Linked DNA regions of Homo sapiens: region 1 is linked to region 2. The links are contacts of gene promoters, found by promoter capture Hi-C in human tissues and cell types (Jung and others, 2019). All regions are on one chromosome and are shown on one strand. The core of a region is centred on a gene start or on the middle of the fragment in contact, and the rest is flanking DNA. Distances in the headings are between cores, read along the strand shown.

Region 1 (7,308 bases), core at 730-3,229, 37 kb after region 2:
TAAACCAAGTCTACAATGGATTCCTCAACACTCGATCTGGCACCTCACTTTTCTTCGAAATCCTCCATATTCATCAACTATCTTTTCCTGATAGGTCTTCAACCAATTTTCAGATTATGTAATAGCACTTAAATAGGATACAAGAATATGCTTTCTCCTCAAGCACTGACAAGCATTTGAGTGATCTCATCCTGTTTGCAGAAGTTGTGATAAGTTTTAATTTTGCCACAAGAAACAAGCACATTGGCAATATTACAGTCAAAATAACACCTTTTATAAGATGAGTCCATTGGAAGAGATAAAGGGACTTTTAATTATTAATTAAAATGCTAATTGAATACCATATCTTCCAGCCAAGGGAGTCATATAGCATGCAAATAGTTCCTGTTTACTAAAGTCTAGTTCAATCAGTATTCATCAAACAGTCATATGAACAGAGCATGGTTCTGAGTCATAGGCCTTTTAAAATTTGCTGCATTCCTTACATCAGAGGCAGATGCAATGAGAAAGCTTTGATGGCTGAAAAATCATTCTGGCTCTCTTCCACAGGGGAAGAGAAACAGGGGTGTTCTCCTTGACTTCTGAGCTTCCACAGTAAGTTGGCTTATGGAGACTGAGCTACTCTCCCCTCAGGCCAAATATCATAAAAGAGCATGTCTGAACGTTCTGAAAGAAGCCAAAATAATTTTTTTTTTTCCTTGAGACAAAGTCTCACTCTGTCACCCAGGCTGATGAAGTGGCACGATCATGGCTCAAACTCCCAAGCTCAAGCGATCCTCCCACCTCAGCCTCCTGAGTAGCTGTGATGACAGGCACACACCACCATGCCCAGCTAATTTTTAATTTTTTTGTGGAGACAGGGTCTTACTATGTTGCCCAGGCTGGTCTTGAACTCTTGGACACAAGCAATCCTCCGGCCTTGGCCTCCCAAAGTGCTGGGATAACAGGCATGAGCCACTGTGCCCAGCCCAAAAAGAAGTTATTTTGAGGTCAAAAAATTTGCATGAAATTCAGGCTCAACCACTAACCAGCTACATGACCAAAGGTAAATTATTTAACTCAATAGTCTTGGTTTCATTTGTAAAATGGAGAGAATTCCTGCCTTATGAAGTTTTTATGATGATTAAATAAGGCAGTGACTTTTTTTTTTTTCCTTTTACTGTAACCTATGGGAAGAAATATATTTTACATTAGAACCCAGTACACAAACAGGCAGGCTGCAGGCTCTGGGAGACAGCCAGAAAACTGTGAGTGCCCAAGGTGTGAAAGTGTGAAAGGGGGATCATTTGCCCCCAAACACACATCTTCATTGGGGAACCTGAAGGTCCAGATCACAGAAGAATTTGACCTTGCCTGGGAGCTGAGACAAATTTAGAGAGCTGAGCCAAATACAGGGGTAGGGGAAGCAACAGGAAGAGCCCTGTGAGTAACTTTCCATCCCCAGGGAAGCCATTTCTGACTCTGTCTCTCAGGTATCCTTGGGGAGGGCTGCCAGTGAAATTGGGGAAAGACCACAAGGAGAAGGAAATTTCCAGCTGAACTTTGTAACAATTTTGACCAAACACAAAGTCTCCTGGATAGAACCTGGGGAGGGGACAAACAGGCAGTGCAGATACAAGCACAGAAGCTGTGGCAGGCAGGGAGGCATGAAATCTGAAAGCCTTGCTTGCTTCCTCAGTCGGGAGGCATGGAGCCTGCGGCAAGTTCTCAGCCCTACTCACCCGCTGCCTGGAAATAAACAGCGCAGCTGGGGATGGGGCAACCGGGCCTCTTGGGTTGCATGGGAGCTGGTAACGCCTGTAACTGCCAGCTTTCCCCCACTTCCCCGGTAACATGCACGACAAAGCAAAGGCAGCCATAATCCTCCTGGAAACATAACTTCATTGGCCTGAGAACCACACCCCCGTACCCCACAGCAGCTGCAGCAACCCCCACCCAAGGAAAGTCTGAGCTCAGACACACCTAACCCTGCCCCCACCTGATGGTCTTTCTCTATCTGCCCTGGTAGCCAAACACAAAGGACATAATCTCTTGGGAGCTCTATGGCCCCGCCCACTGCCTGGTTCTCCCTATACTACTGCAGCTGATGCTCTCTTGAAAGTGCCACCTCCTGGCTAGAGGCCAATCAACACAAAACTAGCACACTAAACAAAAATACAACCAAGGACCCTCACAGAGTCCATTTCACCCCCTGCTACCTCCACCAGAGCAGGTGCTGGTATCCATGGCTGAGAGATCTGAAGACAGATCACATCACAGGACTCTTTGCAGACACTCCCCAGTACCAGGCTAGAGCCTATTAGCTCTGCTGGGTGGCTAGATCCAGAAGAGAAATAACAGTCACTGCAGTTTGCCTCTCAGGAAGCCACATCCCTAAGGGAAGAGGGAGAGCACCACATCAAGGGAGCACCCTGTGGGACAAAAGAATCTGAATAGCAGCCTTCAGCCCCAAATCTTCCCTCTGACATAGTCTACACAAATGAGAAGGAACCAGAAAAACAATCCTGGTAATATGATAAAACAAGGTTCTTAATACTCCCAAAAGATCACACTAGCTCACCAGCAATGAATCCAAACCAAAAAGAAATCTCTGAATTGCCAGAAAAATAATTCAGAAGGTCGATTATTAAGCTACTCAAGGAGACACCAGAGAAAGGTGAATACCAACTTAAAGAAATTTTTAAAATGTTACAGGATATGGATGAGAAAATCTCCAGAGAAGTACCATAAATAAAAAACAATCACAACTCCTGGAAATGAAGGATGCACTTAGAGAAATACAAAATACAATGGAAAGTCTCAGCAATAGAATCAAACAAATAGAAGAAAGAACTTCAGAGCTCAAAGACAAGGCTTTTGAATTAACCCAATCCAACACAGACAAACAAAAGAGAATTTTAAAAAATGAACAAAGCCTCCAAGAAGTTTGGGATTATGTTAAACAACCAAACCTAAGAATACTTGGTATTCCTGAGGAAGAAGATAAATCTAAAAGTTTAGAAAACATATTTGAGGAAATAATCAAGGAAAAACTTCCCCTGCCTTGCTAGAGATCTAGACACCCAAATACAAGAAGCTCAAAGAACACCTGGGAAATTCATTTTAGAAAGATCATTGCCTAGGCACAGAGTCATCAGGTTACCTAAGTCAAGACGAAGGAAGAAATCTTAAGAGCTGTGAGGCAAAAGCATCAGGTAACCTATAAGGGAAAACCTATCAGAGTAGCAGCAAGGGATTGGGGTCCTATCTTTAGCCTCCTTAAACAAAACAATTATCAGCCAAGAATTTTGTATAAGCTTCCTAAATGAAAGACAGTCTTTTTCAAACAAACAAATGCTGAGATAATTTGCCACTACCAACCCAGCACTACAAGAACTGTTAAAAGGAGCTCTAAATCTTGAAGCAAATCCTTGAAATACATCAAAATAGAACCTCCTTAAAGCATAAATTTCACAGGACCTATAAAACAAGATTGCAATGAAAAAAAAAAACAAAAAAACCCAGGTATTCAGGCAACAAATACCACGATGAATAGAATAGTACCTCACATCTCAATACTAACTTTGAATGTAAACGGCCTAAATCCTCCACTTAAAAGATACAGAATGGCAGAATTGTTATGAATTCACCAACCAAGTATCCACTGTCTTCAAGAGATTCACCTAACACATAAGAACTCACATAAACTTAAGGTAAAGGAGTGGGAAAAACATATTCCACGCAAACATCAAAAGCAAGCAGGAGTAGCTATTCTTATATCAGACAAAACAAATTTTAAAGCAACAGCAGTTAAAAAAGACAAAGAGGGACATTATATAATGATAAAAGGACCTGTCCAATAGGAAAATATCACAATTCTAAACATATTTGCACCTAACACTGGAGCTCCCAAATTTATAAAACAATTACTGCTAGACCTAAGAAATGAGATAGACAGCAACATAATAATAGTGGGAGACTTCAATACTCCACAGACAGCACTAGACAGGTCATCAAGATAGAAAGTCAACAAAGAAACAATGTACTTAAGCTATAAACTACAACAAACGGACTTAACAAGATATTTACAGAACATTCTACCCAACAAATATAGAATATACATTCTATTCATCAGCACATGGGATATTCTCCAAGACAGACCATACGATAGGCCACAAAACAAGTCTCAATAAATTTAAGAAAATCGAAATTATATCAAGTACTCTGTCAGACCATAGTGGAATAAAAGTGGAAATCAACTCCAAAAGAAACCCTCAAAACGATGCAAATACATGGAAATTAAATAATCTGCTCCTGGAATGATTCTTGGATCAACAATGAAATCTGAAATCAAGATGAAAATTGAAAAAATCTTTGAACTGAATAATAGTGACACAATCCATCAAAACCTCTGGGATACAGCAAAGGCAGTGCTAAGAGAAAGTTCATACCATTAAATGTCTACATCGAAAAGTCTGAAAGAGCACAAATGGACAATCTCAGGTCACACCTCAAGGAACTAGAGAAACAAGAACAAACCCAAACCCAGCAGAAGAAAAGAAATAACAGAGATCGACCAGGCACAGTGGCTCACACCTGTAGTCCCAGCACTGTGGGAGGCTGAGGTGGGTGGATCATGAGGTCAGGAGTTCGAGACCAGCCTGGCCAACATGGTTAAACTCCAGCTCTGCTAAAAATACAAAACAAACAAACAAACAAAAAACAAAACTAGCCGGGCATGGTGGCAGGCACCTGTAATCCCAGCTACTGGAGAGGCTGAGGCAGGAGAATCGCTTGAACTTGGGAGGCGGAGGTTGCAGTGAGCCAAGATCACGCCATTGCACTCCAGCCCAGGGGACAGTGCAAGGCTCCATCTCAAAGAAAAAAAGAAAAAGAAAAAAAGAAATAACAAAGGTCAGAGCAGAAGTAAATGATACTGAAACAAACAAAAATACATAAAATAAATGAAACAAAAAGCTGTTTCTTTGAAAAAATAAATAAAATTGATAGACCACTAGCAAGACTAACCAAGAAAAGGGGAGAAGATCCAAATAAGCTCCATTAGAAATGAAACAGGAGATATTACAACCAATACCACAGAAATACAAAAGATCATTCAAGGCTACTAGAACACATTTATGTGCGTAAACTAGAAAACCTAGAGGAGATGGATAAGTTCCTGGAAATATACAACCCTCCTAGATTAAACCCGGAAGAAACACAAACTGAACAGACCAACAAAACCAGGACCAGATGGATTCACAGCTGAATTCTATCAGATATTCAAAGAAGGATTGGTACCAATCCTATTGACACTATTCCAAAAGATAGAGAAAGAGAGAATCCTCCGTAAATCTTTCTGTGAAGCCAGTATCACCCTAATACCAAATCCAGGAAAGGACATAACAAAAAAAGAAAACTACAGATCAATTTCCCTGAGGAACACAGATGCAAAAATCCTCAGCAAAATACTAGCTAACCAAATCCAACAGTATATCAAAAAGATAATCCACCATATCAAGTGGGTTTCATACCAAGGATGCAGGGATGGTTTAACATCCACAAGTCAATAAATGTGATACACCACATAAACAGAATTAAAAACAAAAATCACATGATCATCTCAATAGATGCAGAAAAAGCATTTGACAAAATCCAGCATCCTTCTATGATGAAAGCCCTCAGCAAAATTGGCATAGAAGGGACATACCTTAAGGTAATAAAAGCCATCTACTACAAACCCACAACCAGTATTATACTGAAGTGGAAAATGTTGAAAGCATTCCCCCTGGAACAAGACAAGAATGTCCACTTTCACCACTTCTAGTCAACACAGTACTGAAAGTCCTAGCCAGAGCAATCAGACAAGAGAAAAAATAAAGGGCATCCAAATTGGTAAAGAAGAAGTCACACTGTCGCTGTTTGCTGATGATAAGATCATACACCTAGAAAACCCTAAAGAATCCTCCAAAAAGCTCTGGAACTAAAAAATGAATTCAGCGAAGTTTCAGGATACAAAATTAATGTACACAAATCAGTAGCACTGCTATACTGCAACAGTGACCAAACTGACAATCAATCAAGAACTCAACCACTTTCACAATAGCTACACACACACACACACACACACACACACACACACACACCTCAAACAAAAACCACTGAGGAATATACCTAACCAAGGAGGTAAAAGACCTCTACAAGGAAAACTACAAAACACTACTGAAAAAAATCATAGATGACACACACAAATGGAAACACATCCCATGCTCATGGATGTATAGAATCAACATTGTGAAAATGACCATACGGCCAAAAGCAGTCTACAAATTCAATGCAATTCCCATCAAAATACCACCATCATTCTTCACAGAACTAGAAAAAACAAACTTAAAATACATATGGAACCAAAAAGGAGCCCAAATAGCTAAAGCAAGACTAAGCAAAAAGAACAAATCTGGAGACATCACATTACCTGACTTCAAACTATACTATAAGACCATAGTCACCAAAACAGCATGGTACTGGTATCCTCATCTCTTACCTTATACAAAAATCCACTGAAGGTAGATCAAAGACTTAAATCTAAGACCTGAAACCATAAAAATTCTAGAAGATAACACTGGAAAAAACCCTCCTAGACACTGGCTTAGGCAACTACTTTATGACCAAGAACCCAAAAACAAATGCAATAAAAACAAAGATAAATAGATGGAACTTAAACTAAAAAGCTTCTGCACAGCAAAAGAAACAATCAGCAGAGTAAACAGACCTCCCACACTATGGATTGTGGGAGAAAATCTTCACAATCTATAAATCTGACAAAGGACTAATATCCAAAATCTACAAGGAACTCAAATCATGAAGGAAAAAAAAAAAATCCCATCAAAAAGTGGGCTAAGGACAGGAATGGACAATTCTCAAAAGAAGATATACAAATGACCAACAATCATATGAAAACATGCTCAAAATCACTAATGATCAGTGAACTGCAAATCAAAACCACAATGCAACACCACCTTACTCGTGCAAGAATGGCCATAATCAAAAAATAATAGATGTTGGTGTAGATGTGGTGAAAAGAGAACACTTTTACACTGCTGCTGGGAATGTACACTAGTACAACCACTATGGAAAGCTGTGTGGAGATTCCATAAAGAACTACAAGTAGATCTACCATTTGATCCAGGAATCCCACTACAATCCCCCTATTGGGCATCTACCCAGAGGAAAATAAAACATCATACAAACAAGATACTTGCACATGCATGTTTATAGCAGCACAATTCACAACTGCAAAAATATGGAACCAGCTCAAATGCCCATCAA
Region 2 (7,165 bases), core at 2,834-5,333:
AAAATGTATTATTTTTACAACTATCGAAAAGGCATAAAAGAGAACATACTATTTATGGCTGAAGGGTATAGCCAGGCTAATGTGCACAGAGGGAATCAATAAATAAAACTCTTTTTCATTTCAGTAAGAAATCAGATTGTAAGTTTAATGGCTCCATTATAGATACCACCGTGTAATAGAAGACTTAAGTCAATGAAATCTAATCAGTGTGTCATTTCTCAGCGGCCATTGGTGACTTAAAATTAAGATGAGGCAGAGCCAAAATGGAAAACAGTCATTTTGTTGTAGGTATAAACACATGAACGATTCAGAAAATTATTCATCTCAGCTGCCATGCAGCATGACATTAACATTAGGATTGATAGCACTAGTCTGATCTGCTCAAGGAAAATAATAGTTCTATTATACTTAATGATGTTGGTTTTTACACAGCTCATTTCATTTTTCACTAGAAAGCCAGTTATGAAAGAGAGCTGGCCTAGGCATCCCGGCCCTGAGTCCTAGGCCCAGTCTCCAACTGGAAAACCTTAGGCTGGTGTTTACACATCCCTGAGCCTCAGTTTCCTCATCTGCAAAACGGTGTGAATAGTAATCCCTGTGCTGCTTATCTCACAGGGCTATTGTGAGGACCAAATGGATTAGACTGTAAACTGCAAAGTGCTGTCCGCACATGAGGTCATCTGATTACTGTCCTCAGATCTCTTTTGTAGAGGATTTCAATGTATTTCTTTATCATTTGAGTGTGTGTGTGATGGACGAATATGTGTGTGAGTTTGAGAAGCATATCGTTCGTGTCCAGTTACTTTGCAAATTTGTGGACATTTGTGATTGGACAGAGGGGTTTGTGCTGTGGCCTAACACTTGCCAAGTGAGGTGTAGGTTATGCCTATATGCAAATTAAACTTCACCTTTCTTGAATATTCAGAAATCTCACTGGTTTCTTCATTTAACTCTTTTTCCCCCCATTTTTCTACATTGTCAACTTAAAACCATGAAATGTATACATTTAGAAAAAATAGAACTTAATTTCTTATAAAGGGTTACAATCTGCAGGCTGGAGCCTCTGGCCAAAGCCAAAAGCAAGCACTTCAGATAAAAAAGGGAGAGGCTGAGATTTATGCCCAACAAGATGAGCCTTACATATACATTTAGTAGGTTATAGGATAATCTTATGAATATTTATGAGAGGCCCTAATGCATGCATAGCCAGTAATCATATATGTTACATGTTACATACAACCCATGTTCACTTTGGGATGGAGACTTAAAATGTAGTAAAATTGGGCTCTATATGTCAAAAGATGGAACACAGGGCACAAAGACGCTTGGTGTGCAATCTCTGTAAACCGGCCAGAACCGGCTGTGGTCTGTGGTCAGTTATGAGGATGGAGTGCTTTGTAAGGCTGAACACTTGTCAGGGGGAAACTGCGTTGAGGGAAGGGGGGGTTCGCCACGTCAGGTTGTCTGTTGAAGTTGAGGAAGAAATCTTCCAGACATAGTTTTTCAGTAACTGGTTTTAGTTTAATTTTAGGAAAGAAAGTCTTGAGGCAGTTATCGAGGTGGGAGAGCGTTGGGTGTGACTGACCTCTTGCCTTGCCAAAGCTGTAGAATCTGGTTTTTAATGTTTCCTGGGGTCTCTTTTTACCACAATGAGTCTGTTTTGTTTTGCTTGGGGGCCTAGGGGCTTTATTTTTATTTTACATCTTCTTCATAGCAGTGAACTCCTTCAGATATATTATTTACTTCTAAATATTACTTCTAAAGTTCAGGGAGAAAAACAGTTTAGAAGAGGCCCTAAAATTCAAAGAATTTGGGGAAAGCTTTGAAATGATACGAAGGATCAACTAATCACACTTTCTTTGCAGTGCTTAGATTCTTCCTGTGACATCCCCAGCCTATATTTGATACCTCCAGGCACAGAGAACTCACTACTACCTGGAACAGCTCAGTCCATTGCACAGCAGCTCAACGCTCCTGAATGGGTGGTGGAGAGAGGAGAAGCCGCCAGGGTAGAGTCCTGGCCTAATAGTCACCAGGCTCCACCTAGGAGGGGCTTCTGAAATAAGACTCCTGTCTACCCCTAAAATAACTGCAGTGGTTATATGGATTACTATATATGAAAATACTTTAACTTCTATGAAGTTGTGGCAACATTTAGAGCTGATGGAATTAAGTTACAGTTGCTGGACACAAGAATAGACTAAGGAAAGGGGTCCCTCCTGCCCAATTCTGAAATGAGCAATCCAGGCTGGTGCGACAGAGGAACCCAGGTTCCTTTCATCCTATTACTTGCTCATCCCACAAGGCGTCATCCTTGCCTTCGAGGTCAAATCTGGGGCCTGCTCTAGCCACACTCCTGCTGGACTCAGGAACAGAAAAGAGAATAAGTCCAGGACATTTTCCTTTAAAGCAAATGATATGGCAGTCGCACACTTCAATTCTGTTCCTGCCCTTATGGCAGAAGCCAGCCACAGGGCAGCCTGGTGTGGCTAGAGCCCCAGAGCTTCAAAAGGAGTTGGTAACGATGAGAAGGGAATAGATGCCATGTGACAGGGATGGCATTTGAAAGATTTCCAGAAAGCCAGAATTTCTACTGTGAGTCCCTTGTAGAGATTTCATCCCCATCACACCACCTTTATAATAAGCTTGAAGAGGACCAGTCCCCCAAAAGAAGGGTGGTACCCTCTTTTCTCAACAATGACCCAATTTTTCTTCTGACCTTACTAACATAAACATTTACTCTATAAAATATAAGGTGTTGAGGTCGGGTGAGTGGAGGGGGCCCTAAATGTTGATTAGGCAATTGGGGAGGAAAAGGAGGTTTTTGCTATAACTGCCATTCTTTAAATCTACAATTCCATGCTCTTTAAAAGCCTTATAATTTTCTGGATCTGGGAGCTGGGCTATTTCAGGGTCAATGGATTTATTTCAGTTGGTGCCTGAACTGACTTGAAACAAGTGTGTGTGGAAAAGAGCTATTTTGAGAAGGAATAAACCGAGACTGCCCTGATGATAGAATATGCAAGCTGGTGGGTCTTGACTCCTTAAAGGATTATGAAATTAATTTGATTGGTCCCAATCTTTATATAACCACCCCAATCAGGAAACTTCCCATCCCGCCAAAAGGCCCCCTCACGTGCTCTCCCTGTCAGTACCCCATGCAAAGGTAAAATAGATGATATTTTTAAACATGGGTCGTGTTTAAAAGAAATGGAAACTCCTTCAGAGAATGAAGGAGAACCACACTGGGTAGAAGGTTATTCCTGGGGCTCCACCCCTTGCTCCATCAAGTCCTCTGAGCATGAGCTGGGCTCTGAGAAGGAAGAGACAGGAACCAATTGGTCATGTCCACGTGGCCTCAGAAGCTGAGTACGTGACGGTCACCAGATGCCTAGGCAGGCTCCCTTGAAATGGCAGGGCTGCTGTCCAAAATCCTGCTGGGTCATTGCTATTTACAGGCAGCCTTCCCGGCGTGCGGTGGATATCCCAAGCGGGGCTATTTTTAAGCAGGGCTATGGCCTGCCGTGGGTTAAGCTGGTGTGGACAGAAAGCGAGATGATCTAGCCATCTACTGCAGGGGGCCTGATCTTGAACAGAAACCTGACTGTAATTGTCCCTGGATCCAGGTCCCAGACAAAGACGCTGGAAGGAGGTCCCTCCAGCCCCTGGCTCAGGGCCCGGTCAGCTGCTGGAGCCAGGCAGCTTGAGACATCCTCCTCTCCGACCTTGGCTTGAGGGGTTCATCCTCCAGAGCTCACCAGGGCCCCAAGGCTGGTACACCTGAGAGAAGAGAGAAACAAATCCCCCAACAGATGTGCAATTTCACCTGCTGGCCCTTCCATTCTGAGATCCAGAGCCCTGGCAAAGGAGCCTCCAGGACCAGGCCTGGGAAGCAAGACTGGCTCCGCCTTTTACGTTTCAGAGAAAGGGCAGGTGCTATAAAGGGCCCAGCGCCCACGGGCCTGCCTTCAAGGGTACAGCTGTGGGGGCCGGTGCGCCCGGAGGTCTACGCTGGGATTGGTGAGGTCCTCTGGCCCCGCCCCGCCAGGGAGGATTTCCAGGCCGGCCCGACCAGCTCGCCCTGCATACACTTCTTGGCTGTGTGCGCTCAGCAGGACGTGGGAGGCTCCGGCTTCAAGGTCGGTGAGTCCGTGAAACTCTGCTTTATTCCTCCAAAGAGGGGTCATGGCTAGAGCCAGTGTGAAGGGCCTTGGAGGAGTGGATGCCGGGCTGTAGACGGGGACCCCGTTAGGACGCTGACTGCGAGGAGGCAATGGTGACTCGCTAAAGCCAGCAGAGCTCCCGCCCTTGGCCGAAGCGACCCCTCCTCCCTGCACACAGGTGGGGGCAGCTCAGCACCAGGAGCAGAACAAATCAGCACGCTGCCTGCAGGGCCTCTTTTTGGTAGTGAATCAGGAATTTTTCTCGATGGAAAAAAAAATCTAAAGGCTGTATTTTGACGCTAAGTTTGGGACAACTTTAAACTTAAAGTGTCTTTCCCTTGTAATTCACAGAGTCTAATCCACTCATTTCTGGGAATGTTTTTCCCCAGCAGTCTCAGTCTCAAAAGACATGTAAATCAGTGACTTGGGATGAACTAACTAGAAAATTAAAATTTTGAGAAGCTATTTGCTCATAAGCCCAATAGCCAGGCCCAGTTTAAACGGGCAAATAGTATTGCTAGAGATTCAGTTTTGCCGTCACTAATACTAACACATTGATAATGAGACAAGTAACCGTCTCCCCTCCCCACCATCCTTACCTTTCCCACCGGAGGTTAATTAAAAAAAAAAAAAAAAAAAAAAAAACCTATGGAATTGGCCCCACGTGTTTCACCTGGGCAGAGGCCTGTTCTTCACTAGCTTGCTTGCTTGGTTGGTTGTCCCGGGGTTAAAATCAGTCCTGTTCTTGCCCCTAGAGTGGTCTGCCTTCAAATGCTCTCCTCCGAATGTGAGGAAGAGTGACATTTGACAAACAGACCAAAACCTTTAGGTCTCCTCAGTGCTGCCCTTTAGACCTTCCAGAAAGTGTTGCCAGGCTCGTGACCCCTCACAGTGTCAGCTGAGTCAAGTGAGGGGCAGTTAGTGGCCCTCAGGACAAGGTTACGCTAGGTACACCAGTGTGCTGTTTCCAGAAGGGCTGCTTTTCCTGTCTACGGCTCTCACATTTTCTCTGTTCTGAACTCGTGTCCTTGGTCTGTTCTCTCTGTCCTCTCATAGAGGCGAGCATGGCCACAGCATGTGGCCAGAGACTTCCTGACAGGCAGGCTCTTCCGGGAGGCTCTTGGCCTTGTTTGGCGGTCTGAGCACTTCACTTCCTCTGCATTGATAGGCACCTTTTCCAAAGACCCCAGACTTTGGAGTTAATCACGCCTGTGGGTTAAGGCACTGTCACAGCAAAGCACAGGAGTGCCACATGCACCCCATGGACTCTGCCAGCCTCATGACCAAATCATATCATTAGGAAATGGGCCATAGGCAGGTCAGTTTTCCTAAGGAAACTGTGGGTTGGGTCGGGGGGAGTACCATACAGAATGGGGAGTCCTGGGGTTTCAGACACAGGAGGGAGACTGACTTTGCCCCTAGCTCAGAGGCCCTGGGCCTCCATCTCTGCCATAGCCTACAGCAGGCTCCATTTGTCTTCCCAAAGGAAGCCACGTAGAGTCTGTGTCAAGCATTCTGGGAGCTCCTGCCCACAGAGCCAGGAATCCAGCAGCAACCCATGCTGAAGGTGACTGCTGGAGGTCACACTAACCCTTGCCAGGAAGCCTCAGAGACTCCCTCCCTTGGGCGGGGAAGAAGGCAGCCCACTTCACAGCACTTCAAAGGACTAGATGGCTCCTAGCTTCCTGTTTTCTTGAAAACAATTTACCCTTGAGGGACAAAGTCTGGTAACGGTCCCATGCCTTCATCACAGGAGGCCTAGGAAAGGCCTCTGTTTTACAGAGTAGGATTCTAAATATCTCCTTCCTGCCTAGGACTGTCTATTTGCTGAGTAGAACAGTAATGCCAAGAGTGCCCATTAAGGTTGGCTGCGTACTAAGTGGTTTTGAGGTAACGCACACCCTTTGCTATCTTAGAACTGGGAGGAGACAGGCATTTTCTGCGGCCTAGGAGCCTGGCATCGTGAGAATTTGTTCAGAGTGTTCTGTGGAGCTGGTCCAAGCCCAAGGACATCCTCTGTTTTGGGGTGGCTCTCTGGATGGAAAGCTGACACGTGGTCCTCCTCCTGCCCTTCCACCTGCCCTCTGGCTGAGGAGTTCAGACACATGGACGCTGTGAATGGCTGGACCAGAAATAAATCTGAGTCAGCAGAAAGGCAGACATGGTCCATCCGGGATGCCCAGGAAGAGCAGGGGGCTCGGGCTGGAGGCAGTGACAGAACCCAAGGCCTCCTCTTCACATTCTAGGATGTCACAGAACCAGAGAAGAGCATTAAGACCAGGATCTGAACTCCCAGTATACCTGCCTGGGACCAAGAAATGTACAGCTTGTGGCCACTTAACAAAAGGGCTTGATGTAGCTGTCGTTGTTTTTTTAATGCGGAGGGCAGTGTAGGAACAAACAGGATATTATTGCTTTTGGCTCTGTCTGGCTGTGCTCTTGCACCTCCCCATCGCTCCAAATCTCCCTGGCTTGGAGCCCAGGTATTCTGCCAATTTTAGCCTAGATGCTGTAAGCAGTGTTTTTCAATTCAGGAGTCATTGTGGTGTTCCAGGTTAGGGAAACTGAGGCAGAAAGCTTCTATGGGGTGAGAGCTGGAGACCACCTTCCTCTTCACACTGGCACAGCATCCCTAGCAAGGCCTGGCAGGCACATTGAGCACTAGAGTCAGAGTGGAGCGGGCAGAGATATCCCTGGCGTCTGGGTTACTTCAGCGGGAGCCTGAGGACAGGGAAAGAGAACAAGTTTATAATCTGCAACTTTAGAAGTCATATGCCCTGAGGTGACAATCCTGTGCCTAGGAGCTGCTGTGTTAAATGCACTTCTACGGTCTTGGGGGTTTGACTGAGTGGAATGATCTGTGGCACCACAGGTTTTAAGCCACAGGGGTGGTTTCCCTCCAATTGCTGGTCAGTGAAGGGCTGTATGTGAGGTGCTGCGGTCTGCAAGGAAGCTGAATCCAGTGCAAAAGACAAACCTGGGTTCAAATCCCAGCTCTACTA

The links. The method cuts DNA at HindIII sites, captures the fragments that hold promoters and counts their contacts. A contact is called where the count stands out against the background at its distance.
Region 1: a contact is called between a fragment that was not itself captured here and the fragment with the promoter of CKMT2 in region 2, in 1 of the 25 tissues and cell types used here (mesenchymal stem cells).

Annotation. Positions count from the first base shown.
Region 1 is chr5:81,268,529-81,275,836 of GRCh38, forward strand. All of the region lies in intron 1 of CKMT2-AS1 (CKMT2 antisense RNA 1), which reads right to left. Among named protein-coding and RNA genes, the nearest start is that of CKMT2-AS1, 29 kb to the right of the region's middle. RefSeq lists enhancers at 1-1,124, 1,201-1,753, 1,754-2,304. The HindIII fragment of the contact is 6,048 bases long and covers 1-5,003 here.
Region 2 is chr5:81,229,239-81,236,403 of GRCh38, forward strand. CKMT2 (creatine kinase, mitochondrial 2) reads left to right here and starts at 4,084. Exons shown (of 10, transcript NM_001099735.2): 1 at 4,084-4,139. It overlaps RASGRF2 (Ras protein specific guanine nucleotide releasing factor 2), which reads left to right. Exons shown (of 27, transcript NM_006909.3): 27 at 1-924. The HindIII fragment of the contact is 7,118 bases long and covers 2,233-7,165 here.